Linked DNA regions of Homo sapiens: regions 1 and 3 are each linked to region 2. Evidence: promoter capture Hi-C in 16 types of primary human blood cells and fetal thymus (Javierre and others, 2016). All regions are on one chromosome and are shown on one strand. Each heading gives the region's core, a stretch centred on a gene start or on the middle of the fragment in contact. The rest is flanking DNA. Distances are from core to core; before and after follow the strand shown. Region 1 holds the start of MTRF1L (mitochondrial translation release factor 1 like). Region 2 holds the start of RMND1 (required for meiotic nuclear division 1 homolog). Region 3 overlaps PCMT1 (protein-L-isoaspartate (D-aspartate) O-methyltransferase).

Region 1 (3,867 bases), core at 494-2,993, 1.6 Mb after region 2:
CGGGTTCAAGCGATTCTCCCACCTCAGCCTCTCAAGTAGCTGGGACCACAGGCACGCACCACCATGCCCAGCTAATTTTGCATTGTTTGTAGAGACAGGGTTTTGCCATGTTACCCAGGCTGGTCTCGAACTCCTGGGCTCAAGTGATCGGCCCACCTGAGCCTCTCAAAGTGCTGGAATTAGAGGCGTGAGCCACCACGCCTGGCCAAGGATCTCTTACTTCTTGAAATTTTCTATTGGCTTCTACAGCTTCATTTATTTATCTACTTCAGGGTCACAAAGCTCTGGCTGTTTTTTTCTTGACCTTTTATAGCCTTCTTCTCTGCCTGCTCCTCAAATACTGTGTATTTCTGGCCTTGTTAGACTTGTTTCTATCTTAACACATTTTCCCTGAGTGTTCTCATCTACTTCTAAGGTTTAATTTACCACGTACTGTATATCTCGAGAGCTCTCATATGATTATTTGGGCTCAATTTTTCTCCTATGTCAGTAATTTTTTCTCCTAGACTAGTACAGATATCTTTATTGGAATTCCTTTTCACAGGTATTTTTAACTTAATATGGCATTCAATGCAAAACTCATCTTTTTAAAAAATTCGGTCCAACTTTTATACTTTCATCTTAATTAACAGTACCACTCGTGCTGAAGCCAGAAACCTAAGACTTTTCTTAGAACTAACTCTCTCCCTCATCCTTCTCAGGGCATAAGCCACTAAATCCTAACTTGTTTCTCAAAATGTTTTGTGAGTCAGAACTATGCCTATCACCATTTCTTCTTTGGATTGTTTCAACTGCCTCCTCCCTGGCCTGTCAGCCACCAGCGTTTCTGGAGAATACTCCAATTTATCCTCAGCGCATGCCACCATTAACTTTTCTTTACAAAGACGTGAATTCTCTGCTTAAAAACATTTGCTAACTTTCCATGGTCTATAAAAAATAAATCCAAATTCTTTGTCTTGCAAGGTTCTTAACTATTTTTCTGGCTTCATGTTTCTATGACATCATCTCCCACCTATTCTATACTTAGGCCATACTGAATTTCCCAATTTAGTACCTTTACCCACGTATAGGTCTGAGATTCTGAGTCCTAAGTCTGCTATTAACAAGCACTGCCCTGATACTACTGCAAATGGGTCTCCACACCACACTTTGAGAAACACCGCTGTGGAGCCCATCACAGGGACAGTGCCTTATTTATCCTTGCTGAGCTAATGAGCTCTTGCCCGAGTCCACAACTAATAAGCATGTAAAAGGCGGCAGAGCGCCGTGGCAAAGGAGCACAAGAGAGCCCACAGGAGAGGATGGGATCACAGCACGTAATGATGTCCTGACCTCTGATCCAAAATAAAAACGGCTGCAAGTGAGTAAAGAGTTTCAAACTCGGGTAGTGTGGGCAGTGGAAAAGTCAAACGAAGAGTCAAGAATGTGCTCTGACGCCTCTCCCCCGGGCCCGACCCTTACCGTGCAGCAAGTGCTCAGTCTCCCGCAGCTCCCGCTCCTTCTCGTTCAGCAGTTTGATCACCGCCAGCAACTCGGGCCTCCTGACCTTCAAATGGGCTTCAGACCCCGCCTGGCGCTCGAGGAAGGTCCGCAAGGGCCCGCCCCGGGTGAACAGCTCCTCCAGCGGCGGGCTACCGGAGCTCAGGGGCCGGCGGGCTGGGCCAACGGCCCGGCGGGGCCAGAGCCACCGGGCAGCGCCCCACAGAACCCGGGACCGCATCCTTAGTCCGAGATCGCGGACCCTGACCGGAACCGGAAGTTCCGGACACAGCAGCCCTCGCGACAACACCCAGAATTTGGAGATAAGGGTGAGAGCGCACCAAGCCCCGCCCAGCGCAAGCGTTGCTTTTTAAAGGATTTTCCGGAAGCCTTGGCGGGAACTTCCTGCCAAGCGTGAGAACGCTGCGAACTTCCCGGAGGCCAAAAGTTGAGGGGGCTGAGCGGAGCGTGATTGGGGAGGGGCGGGCCTGGGAGACCTTGGGCGCCTCCTCTGAAAGCCTCTTGGTAGGTATCCGGTTGATGGGTGACGTGTTTGGCCGGAAAGGGAGAGCAGCAGATTGCCCCTCTGTTTTCTGATAGTGAGGATTTCTTTCCCATGCACTGAGTCGGGGCCTCCAGAGCCGCAGTGCAGGGCAGTCGAGGGTCCGCTGCAGGGCGGAGGTCACAGCCGCGCAAGTCGTCAGTCTCCGGTGCAGGGCTGCCGCTGAGTCTTCAAGAGCGAGTTTTATTATGGACAGGCGTGTGTTTATTCCTCCTCCTTTTTTCCTGCTTATGTTTCTCTTGTCCACGGTGGGTGAGGTTCGTGGTAATAAGGACTTGATAAGTGTATTATGAGATAACCACTGAATGAATTTGCACAATAGACGTGCGTGCCCTTCATCTGCCGCGTCATTTACTTGCTTTCAAAGGACTTTATTATTCACCTGCCCATTCATTTTCACTTAGTCCCACTTATCGTCAGCTTTTTAAAGAGGTGGAGTGATTCCGTGTTACAGCAACCTACAGCCCAACAAAGCCTTCAGATATCTGCCTCCAGGAGTCCAACCCTCATCCCTTTCCAAAGAACTGGTAGCGGATAGGTGCCAGCAATACCGACATTTATTGGCACAATGCTTTGCACTTTTCAAAAGACCTGTTCACAGCTCAACGGAGAAATAAATATGAGGGAATAAACACAACCAAGACAGTCCTGGGAATGCAAGGGCTAAACGCTCAATCTGAGAACTGCCACTACCTAACTGGTTTGGGCAGCGTCTACTAAGTGGTATTTCACTGTTGAGAGAGGTGATATATTAGAAGTACGAAACTTCTAATTTATTCATAAAAAATAAAATGGTAAAAAATGGGAACCCTTATCAAGGTTAAAATATCCTTAGGTCATCTAATCGAAACTGTTAAGTATAAACATTCTTAGAAAATAACGTTTGCATTGCCTCTCTCTTTTCATCTCTTAGCACGATAACAAATGCAGAGTGAGTGGAAGAATGAAATGACTCTTCAAACATCAGGAAGCAAAAATAGTTTTTTGCTACTTAAAGGCTCCACCTAATTATCTCAGTTCTTTTCACTTTGTGTATTCAAGCTACACAACTTTATACAATCGTTCTGCTGTTGAAACCCATTTTATTTTAATCCTGATCTGAGGATAGAACAGGACTGATCAGGATGTTTTTATCTCTATTAGAACAATTGTTTCCCAAGTCTGAACTTAACTTTGAATTTATCTTAACCATGGAAATGGTGAGAATCACTTGAACTCAACATGGTATATCTCTCAGTTGAGTTCTCAGAACATAAGTCATTTCAACAATATATTTTATTATTTATAAAAGGTGAAACATTTTAATAATTAAAACCTTATAGAACAATGTAAAGAATCTAGCCAGAATTTTATTTTCCCCCAAGTGCATAAGCAATTTAAGTAACACATAGAAGTGTACCTTTTATTCCTATAGTGTTATATACCAATGAGGAAACAGTAACTTTCTAAGGATACATTGTTGAATTCTTTATTAATTCAAAACATTTTAAGAAAGTCAGTGTAATGCATATGCATTTTACAATAACATCCATAGGTTTCCACAATCTAGTAAAATGAAAACAGCTGTATTTTGATTTACTTTGAAAACTCAAACCTATAGTTCGAGACTTCTGAATATTTTTACATTACTGTCATGCTCAAATTCTGTTACATGGTGAAAATTCTAGCATTTTCCAGAAGTATATTATTGTACATAGGTAAAATGATAAAATTGATTCTAGGAAGGGGGAAAAAAAAACCCAGAAAAACTTAAATTGGAGGAAACATAATCTGGATTATCTATTCAATTTGTGAATACCCACCGTTATTCTGGCATTGCAAAATAA
Region 2 (3,915 bases), core at 329-2,828:
CCGGCCAGCCGCCCCGTCCGGGAGGGAGGTGGGGGGGTCAGCCCCCCGCCCGGCCAGCCGCCCCGTCCGGGAGGTGAGGGGCGCCTCTGCCCGGCCGCCCCTACTGGGATGTGAGGAGCCCCTCTGCCCGGCCACCACCCCGTCTGGGAGGTGTACTCAACAGCTCATTGAGAACGGGACGGGATGACAATGGCGGTTTTGTGTAATAGAAAGGGGGGAAAGGGGGGGAAAAGATTGAGAAATCGGATGGTTGCCGTGTCTGTGTAGAAAGAAGTAGACATGGGAGACTTTTCATTTTGTTCCATACTAAGAAAAATTCTTCTGCCTTGGGATCCTGCTAATCGGTGACCTTACCCCCAACCCTGTGCTCTCTGAAACATGTGCTGTGTCCACTCAGAGTTGAATGGATTAAGGGCGGTGCAAGATGTGCTTTGTTAAACAGATGCTTGAAGGCAGCGTGCTGGTTAAGAGTCATCACCACTCCCTAATCTCAAGTACCCAGGGACACAAACACTGCGGAAGGCCGCAGGGTCCTCTGCCTAGGAAAACCAGAGACCTTTGTGCACTTGTTTATCTGCTGACCTTCCCTCCACTATTGTCCTATGACCCTGCCAAATCCCCCTCTGCGAGAAACACCCAAGAATGATCAATAAAAAAAAAAAAAAAAAAAAACACAACCAGCATCCATTCTCTTATCTTCCTCCACTTTGCATTTCTCCATTGTTTAACATCACTTGCACACCTTTAATTTTTAGTTTATTAATTCATACTGCAAACGAACTCAGTTCTTATCATGTGCCAGGTATTGTCCTAGTTGCTGACAATACAGCTGAAAATAAAATAGACAAAAATCCTATCTTTTGAATCTTTTGAACCTTGCATTGGGAGTGACAGACAAAACGAGGTAAATCAGTAAAATACGTGAGACACAAAGCTAAAGGAAAAAAATAAGAGGAAAGGGCAGATTTTTGTGTCTTCCTTCCAGAATGGAAGCTCCCTGAGGATACGGATTTGTGTTTTTTCCTATTATATCTCCTGACAATAGCGCCCAGCACATAGTAGGCATTCGATCGAATTTTTAAAATGAAATACAAGGCAGTTACTCAGTTCCCGGGCACATTTCAACTTTTAGAGAACAATTACACCAATTAAGAAAATCGATTACAGCTAGGCTACGATTCGAGAGCTAAGTGGCGCTCATCTTTGGGAGTATGCCGTTCAATTCCTCAAACTCAAAATTATTTTATCGATTTCTACAGTTACCGCGGTGCACTGGCTCAAAAAAAGGGTTCATTAATTGAGTGCTTTTTACTCCCAGCTAAGCTGACCAAAGATCACGGTAAGAGGCAAAGGGTCACAGCCGCACTGGCGTAACCCGTAACTGTACACGTTCCGGGCGGCCAGGAGCCAGGGCGCAGACCTCCAAGCCGGACCACTCGAGCTGCTAAAGAAAAGGCAATACACTAACCTCTCCGCCGGAAGAGAAGAAGGAAGCGCCAGGGACGCACGCTTCCTCGGCAGGACTGCAGGGAAAGAGCCGCACCCCCAGCCTCTCACTACTGCAGCCAACCCATCTCCTGGAAGGGCGCTCCCGCCCACCCCCGCTACTGCGCAGCCGCACTGAACTCTGGTCCCACTTAGCGGGAGAAACTCGGGCCACGTGACTGTCTGACCACGTGAGCCGCGTCGCCGCGACCTCTTCCGCTCCCTAGGCCCTGGGACCTCCCGGTCCCTTGCCTGCTTCCGGCTTTCGCTCGCTTCCATATCCGCTCCTCTAGTCGCCCTCCGCTGGCCCCGCCTTCGTCCCCGGAAGATTGGGTCTTCTGGCGAGCCACTGTTTGCCGTTTGATCGGGCACCAAATAAAGTTTCTTTATTCAAAAGCACTTTTTTTTTAAAGCCACACCACCCCCATTCTCAGCTCCTCCTTCGCGGCGGTACCGCCTCTGTTTCTGCGGCGATTGAACAGCCGAGCTTTGCGGCCGGGATCGCGGAAAGTGATGGCTGTCGTCCCGGCGTCTCTCTCAGGACAGGACGTGGGGTTAGTCTAGCTTTTCTCCTCCCCACTTTTGCGGAAAGCCGGGCCTCGCCGGGAGCCTGTGGGGACTAAGCGGAGGGCGCCCGCTCCCCGGTGGGCTGCGTTCGAGTCCCGCCGCCGGGCGCGGCTTTCCGGGGCGCCTTTGCGGGTTTCGCGGACTGGCTCGGAGGCGAAGGGAGGCGGCCCCGGGGAGGGAGCCTGCCCGCGGCGGCTGCTCGTAAGGATCAGGACAGGGGTCAGCTTCGCGGTCTGTTCCTGGCGGTCACTTTTTATTTATTCACTTTAATAGACGCGCTTTGGGGGCGTTAAAATTCTGCGTAAGAGTTGGGGATCTCAGCGCTATTAAGAAACGGGTTTCTCCCTGTTGTTGATCAAATCGTAATCTCACAGTAAGAACTGTCTAGTTTTTTGCTTTATAGTCGTCACGCTACTGATTCTTGGGTAAAGTTGTGGGTGACCGTGCAAATAACATCCATTTGCATAAATCGAATGGCCAAATTTATATTTGAAATTTGTCCTTACTTCAAAATATTGCAAAAGACGAGAACACTTTGAAGAAAATAAACCTGGGCAGAAAGTAGGTTGAGGCCAACAAAGTGGCGCCAATGGCCCCAAATTGAGGCAGTCACTGTTTCAGGTCATGCAAGTATAGAGAGTATCTCCTTCAATTTTGCGCCCTAGGGCTTCTGGCCTCACTCCAGTCCTGGCCAGAGACTTTGTTCCAGAGGTGCAGGAAATGTAGTAGTTAGGAAAACAGTAATACTTTCCAATTAAAGTAAAATCTCAAAAAAGGACTTACTATACCTACTGCCTGGGAAAATTCAAGTGACAGTTGATTTAATGTTCCTGCTCACCCTCTGAGGTATTAGTGATTTCTTTTATTAATGATTTTTAAAAATTAAATTCTGATCAACGTAGTTATTATGCGCATTAAAACCTAATCACTGTTTTGGGTGGTACTGAAAGCACCACAGAGTCGGAAAGTGTGTGCAGTTTTTTTCTTAAAGTTCTATAGCTATCATTTGAGGAAACCTTTTGAAGAAATACCCAAGTTACAATCTAGTAATTTAACAATTGTCTCCTGTGATCTGGAGATAAAAACACTAGTCAGCTAAGCTCTGTGCTCTATATTTAAAACTGCACAGAATTTCTCCACCAAATAAAGCTTTTTTTCTACCTGTATCATGTATTTCCTTAGAATGATATAAAATGATAATCTGTAAATCTTGGGTTTTGTATGAATAAAATCAAGAATATCTTTAATTTTTTAATGCAGGTATAAGTTTTTCTTCATCTCCAGCTTGCTTCATTCTTGAACACTTCTATAAAATCTCTGATTTTTTGAGTGGGAAGAGACAGTAGCACGCCTTCATTTGCTTAGGGGCAGAATAGGATGGAAGGAGTCCATTGTGCAGATAGAGAAGGCAGAGAAGGGGAAAATTTTTGAAAATAATTAAAATTGACTTAGAAAATAGACAGAATGGAGAGAAACAGGCTTAAAAGTACCTTTAATTCTTTATGTTGTTCAAGCACATTAGACCCTTTAGGTGGTTTTAGATGCATTGCTTCATTCATCTTTCTAAGCAGGTGACTTAGCAGATAGTAGACCTGGGACAAGAGCCTGTTTGATTTCTAAGCTAATCCATTCCCTATCCTATCACTTTGCTAAGCGAGTTTCTGATTTAGGAAAATAAAAGCAATAGAATAGGAAAGATAAGAATGATTAAACAGACTCCATGGGAGAATCTGGGATTAGAGGCACCAAGACAGTTTGGCTTCCATGACATACCAGCGAATTTTCCAGGTTTTCTTATGTCTTAATATAGTAATCATACAATACTTGTCTATCTTTTAATAGTTGTATGAGGAGTTTAATATA
Region 3 (3,442 bases), core at 660-3,159, 1.7 Mb before region 2:
ACTCGTCGACGACGTGGACTGGAAGGGGAGAGAAAGAGCCAGGGGCCGCTGCTGGTGGGGGCAGGGGCAGTCGTCTCCCTGCAGGCCCTGGGGGAGGGAGTGCAGTACAGGTGATGCTGCTGTCACTCAGGTCCGCGTCCGGGTCCGGCTTGTGAGGGGCGTGCCTTCGGGGTGGGAGCGTGTGGGCTAGGCCTTATGGAGAGTGGGCTGGCGCTCAGGAGACCCCACCCTCGTCCCCTGCATTTTTCTCACCTTCCTCCTCCATAATCAACCTCGCTGCAAGCTTTCCCTCTTATGCAGCCTCCCCCGCCCTCCGTTTTTTCCCCTGGAGGGAGATGCCACCGTCTGATACAGGCGAGGGGAGGAAGATGAGAGTATTGCCATTGCAGATGCTGGGAGAAATTTCTCGGGCGGCTGTCCAGTGGAAAGCTCCGTGCGGGGCGGAGAAAGAACAGGGGATGCTGTTCCTGAGAGACTTGTATTTCAGGAGCCTTTGCAGGTCCTGGATCAGCAGAGGGTTGTGTGTCTGATGTTCTAACTTTTTTCAGGGCTACCATAGGCTTTAAAAACCTTATGTGGAGTTTCTTTATATCACTCTCCTTAGTTACTGTATTCCTTCTTCTGATGATAATTTTAGGATAGGATGAGTGCTGTGTCACTTTCTTTTTTTAAATCGAAATATAGCGTCCCCGTTTTGTTGGGAGACTACAAGGGCCGCAGTCTATAATAAACTCACTGGTCAGAATTTATAGCATTATTCGCTACTATGCAGTAATCATATCTTGTCACATGGTATTTTTAATTGTCCTGTGTTACTTAGCTTTTCATGTGTTTGTCTTATTTCTCAACTCGATTTGTAATTTCCTTAACGGCTGGCACCATTAAAAAAAATTTTTTTTGGCCGGGCTCATTGGCTCACGCCTGTAATGCCAGCACTTTGGGAGGCCGAGGCGGGTGGATTACCTGAGTTCAGGAGTTCGAGACCAGCCAGGCCGACATGGTGAAACCCCATCTCTACTAAAAATACAAAAATTAGCCGGGCGTGGTGGTGCCTGCCTGTAATCCCAGCTACTTGTGAGGCTGAGGCAGGAGAATCGCGTGAACCCGGGACGGGGAGGTTGCAGTGAGCCAAGATCTTGCCACTGCACTCCAGCCTGGGCAACAAGGGAGGAAACTCCGCCTCAAAAAAAAAATTTTTTTTTGAATTTTCTCTAAGAATTTAACAGTCATCCCTTTTTTTCATAAATGCCCATTAAATGTCCGTTATATGCCTAAATCTGTGCTAGACAGACAAAGGTAATTGAGAGAAATTAGGAGTACTGTTTGGCACATGGTTGGTACTTTTTTTTTTTTTTTTTTTTTTTGAGACAGAGACTCCCTCTGTAGCCCAGACTGGAGTGCAATGGCGCGGTCTTAGCTCACTGCAACCTCCGCCTCCCAGGTTCAAACAATTGTCCTGTCTCAGCCTCCTGAGTGGCTGGGACTACAGGCGCCTGCCAGCACGCCTGGCTAATTTTTGTATTTTTAGTAGAGAAGGGGTTTCACTATGTTGGCCAGGCTGATGTCGAACTCCTGACTTCATGATCTGCCCACCTCGGCCTCCCAAAGTGCTGGGATTATAGGCGTGAGCCACCGCGCCAGGCCGGTACTTGATATATTAGTCATTTTGGATTTTTTTTTGGTGGGGGGACAATACTTAATGTGGAAACTGAGTCTTTAGTGTTTGGTAAGAGAGAATGTTGATTATTTTTTTTTTTTAGACAGGGTTTCACTGTCACCCAGGTTGGAGTGCAGTGGTGTGAGCTCGGCTCACTGCAACCCCTGCTTTCTGTGCTCAAGCGATTTTCCCACTTCAGCCTCCTGAGTACAGTGGTGCCACCATACCAGGCTAATTTTTAGGGTTTTTTTTTTTTTTTTGGTAGTTTATGAGATGGGGTCTTGCTATGTTGCCCAGGCTGGTCTTGAACTCCTGGACTCAAGCAATTTGTTGGACTCAGGCTCCCAAAATTTTGGGATTACAAGAGTGAGCCACCGCACCTGGCCATGGTGAATGTTTAGATGTCAACATTTTTTTTTTTTGAGACAGAGTTTTGCTCTTGTTTCCCAAGCTGGAGTGCAATGGCGTGATCTTGGCTCACTGCAACCTCTGCCTCCTGGGTTCAAGCGATTCTTCTGCCTCAGCCTCCCGAGTAGCTGGGATTACAGGCACCCACTACCACGCCTGGCTAATTTTTAGTATTTTTAGTAGAAACGGGGTTTCACTATGTTGGCCAGGCTGGTCTCAAACTCTTGACCTAAGGTGATCTGCCTGCCTCGGCCTCCCAAAGTGCTTGAATTACAGGTGTGAGCCACCACGCCCAGCCTAGATGTCAATATTTTGTCAAGCATTGTCAGGTTCATTTTATGGAATGATGCTTGATTGGAAATGGACATTTATGTGCTACAACAGTAGTATGAAGTATGATTTGGGTTCTCATGGATGGCACATAAGCTCAATATGTTGTAAATATTTTTTACGAAATCCCTTAACATGATCTCAGTGCCTTCTATTGCAGTATATGTACCTGAAACATTTTGTACACAAATTGTGATTAAGTAATTTTCCACCGGTAGGTTATCATAGTAGGCACTTGGCTGTGGCAGAAATTTGTAATCAATCAGGCTCTTAAAGTCTCTCCTTTTTTGGGCCAAATTTGTGGTAAGCCAAGACTAGATAGATCTTTTCCCGGTGGTTTCATAATCACTTTAATGTATTGCATTACTGTTCTTAGCTGAAATTTCTAAGGATGTTTTTCTGTCAGGAAATTTAATAAGGAATATTTAATATACATAGATGTTGATTTTGCAAATAGTTTTATACTAGATTTATGATTGGTAAGAGGAAATTAGAGTAGAATAGTTGTTTAGCCTCTTTTGTAACACTTGTGCAACTTTAGTTTCAACTTCTTGCTGAGGTAATTCTAGCTAATAGATTTCTTTTTATTAGCTTATTATAAAAGTAATACTTGCTCATGTGAAAATTGTAATTGACATAAAATTTGAAAATATTGCCTTCCTTCCTCATTATTCTACTGTGTATATTCTTCCTAAATTAAAGGCTTTTAATTGAAATCTTAGAAAAATATAAAAATGTGATTGTGTTGATGTTGAAATGAAAAGGGGCCTGCTTACTAGAAGGGGAAGGAAATTACATTTTTAATGGTTTTTTTTTTTTGAGACAGAGTTTCGCTCTTATTGCCCAGGCTGGAGTGCAATGGCACGATCTCAGCTCACCACAACCTCTGCTTCCCAGGTTCAAGCAATTCTCTGGCCTCAGCCTCCCGAGTAGCTGGGATTACAGGCAGGCGCCACCACACCCAGCTAATTTTGTATTTTTAGTAGAGACAAGGTTTCTCCATGTTGGTCAGCTGGTCTTGAATTCCCAACCTCAGGTGATCTGCCT

Evidence for each region. Contacts are between HindIII fragments. The CHiCAGO score rates a contact against its expected background, and 5 or more counts as called.
Region 1: a contact is called between the fragment with the promoter of MTRF1L here and the fragment with the promoter of RMND1 in region 2, in 2 of 17 cell types (non-activated CD4 T cells and naive CD8 T cells). The highest score is 5.8, in non-activated CD4 T cells.
Region 3: a fragment that was not itself captured here is called in contact with the fragment with the promoter of RMND1 in region 2 in 1 of 17 cell types (fetal thymus); the score reaches 5.5 in fetal thymus.

The regions. Positions count from the first base shown.
Region 1 is chr6:153,000,966-153,004,832 of GRCh38, forward strand. MTRF1L (mitochondrial translation release factor 1 like) reads right to left here and starts at 1,744. Exons shown (of 7, transcript NM_019041.7): 1 at 1,462-1,744. The coding sequence starts at 1,720. It overlaps RGS17 (regulator of G protein signaling 17), which reads right to left. Exons shown (of 5, transcript NM_012419.5): 5 at 3,494-3,867. RefSeq lists silencers at 1,492-1,551, 1,562-1,671 and enhancers at 1,901-2,901, 1,992-2,101. The HindIII fragment of the contact is 13,608 bases long and covers 1-3,867 here.
Region 2 is chr6:151,450,548-151,454,462 of GRCh38, forward strand. It overlaps RMND1 (required for meiotic nuclear division 1 homolog), which reads right to left and starts at 1,579. Exons shown (of 12, transcript NM_017909.4): 1 at 1,469-1,579. It overlaps DCPH1 (damage control phosphatase 1), which reads left to right and starts at 1,919. Exons shown (of 5, transcript NM_024573.3): 1 at 1,919-2,039. The coding sequence starts at 1,999. RefSeq lists enhancers at 1,307-1,356, 1,547-1,996 and a silencer at 2,157-2,276. The HindIII fragment of the contact is 8,083 bases long and covers 1-3,199 here.
Region 3 is chr6:149,750,136-149,753,577 of GRCh38, forward strand. The region is part of intron 1 of PCMT1 (protein-L-isoaspartate (D-aspartate) O-methyltransferase); the gene reads left to right. Among named protein-coding and RNA genes, the nearest start is that of PCMT1, 2.1 kb to the left of the region's middle. RefSeq lists silencers at 1-212, 138-432 and enhancers at 537-1,039, 1,040-1,542. The HindIII fragment of the contact is 3,257 bases long and covers 282-3,442 here.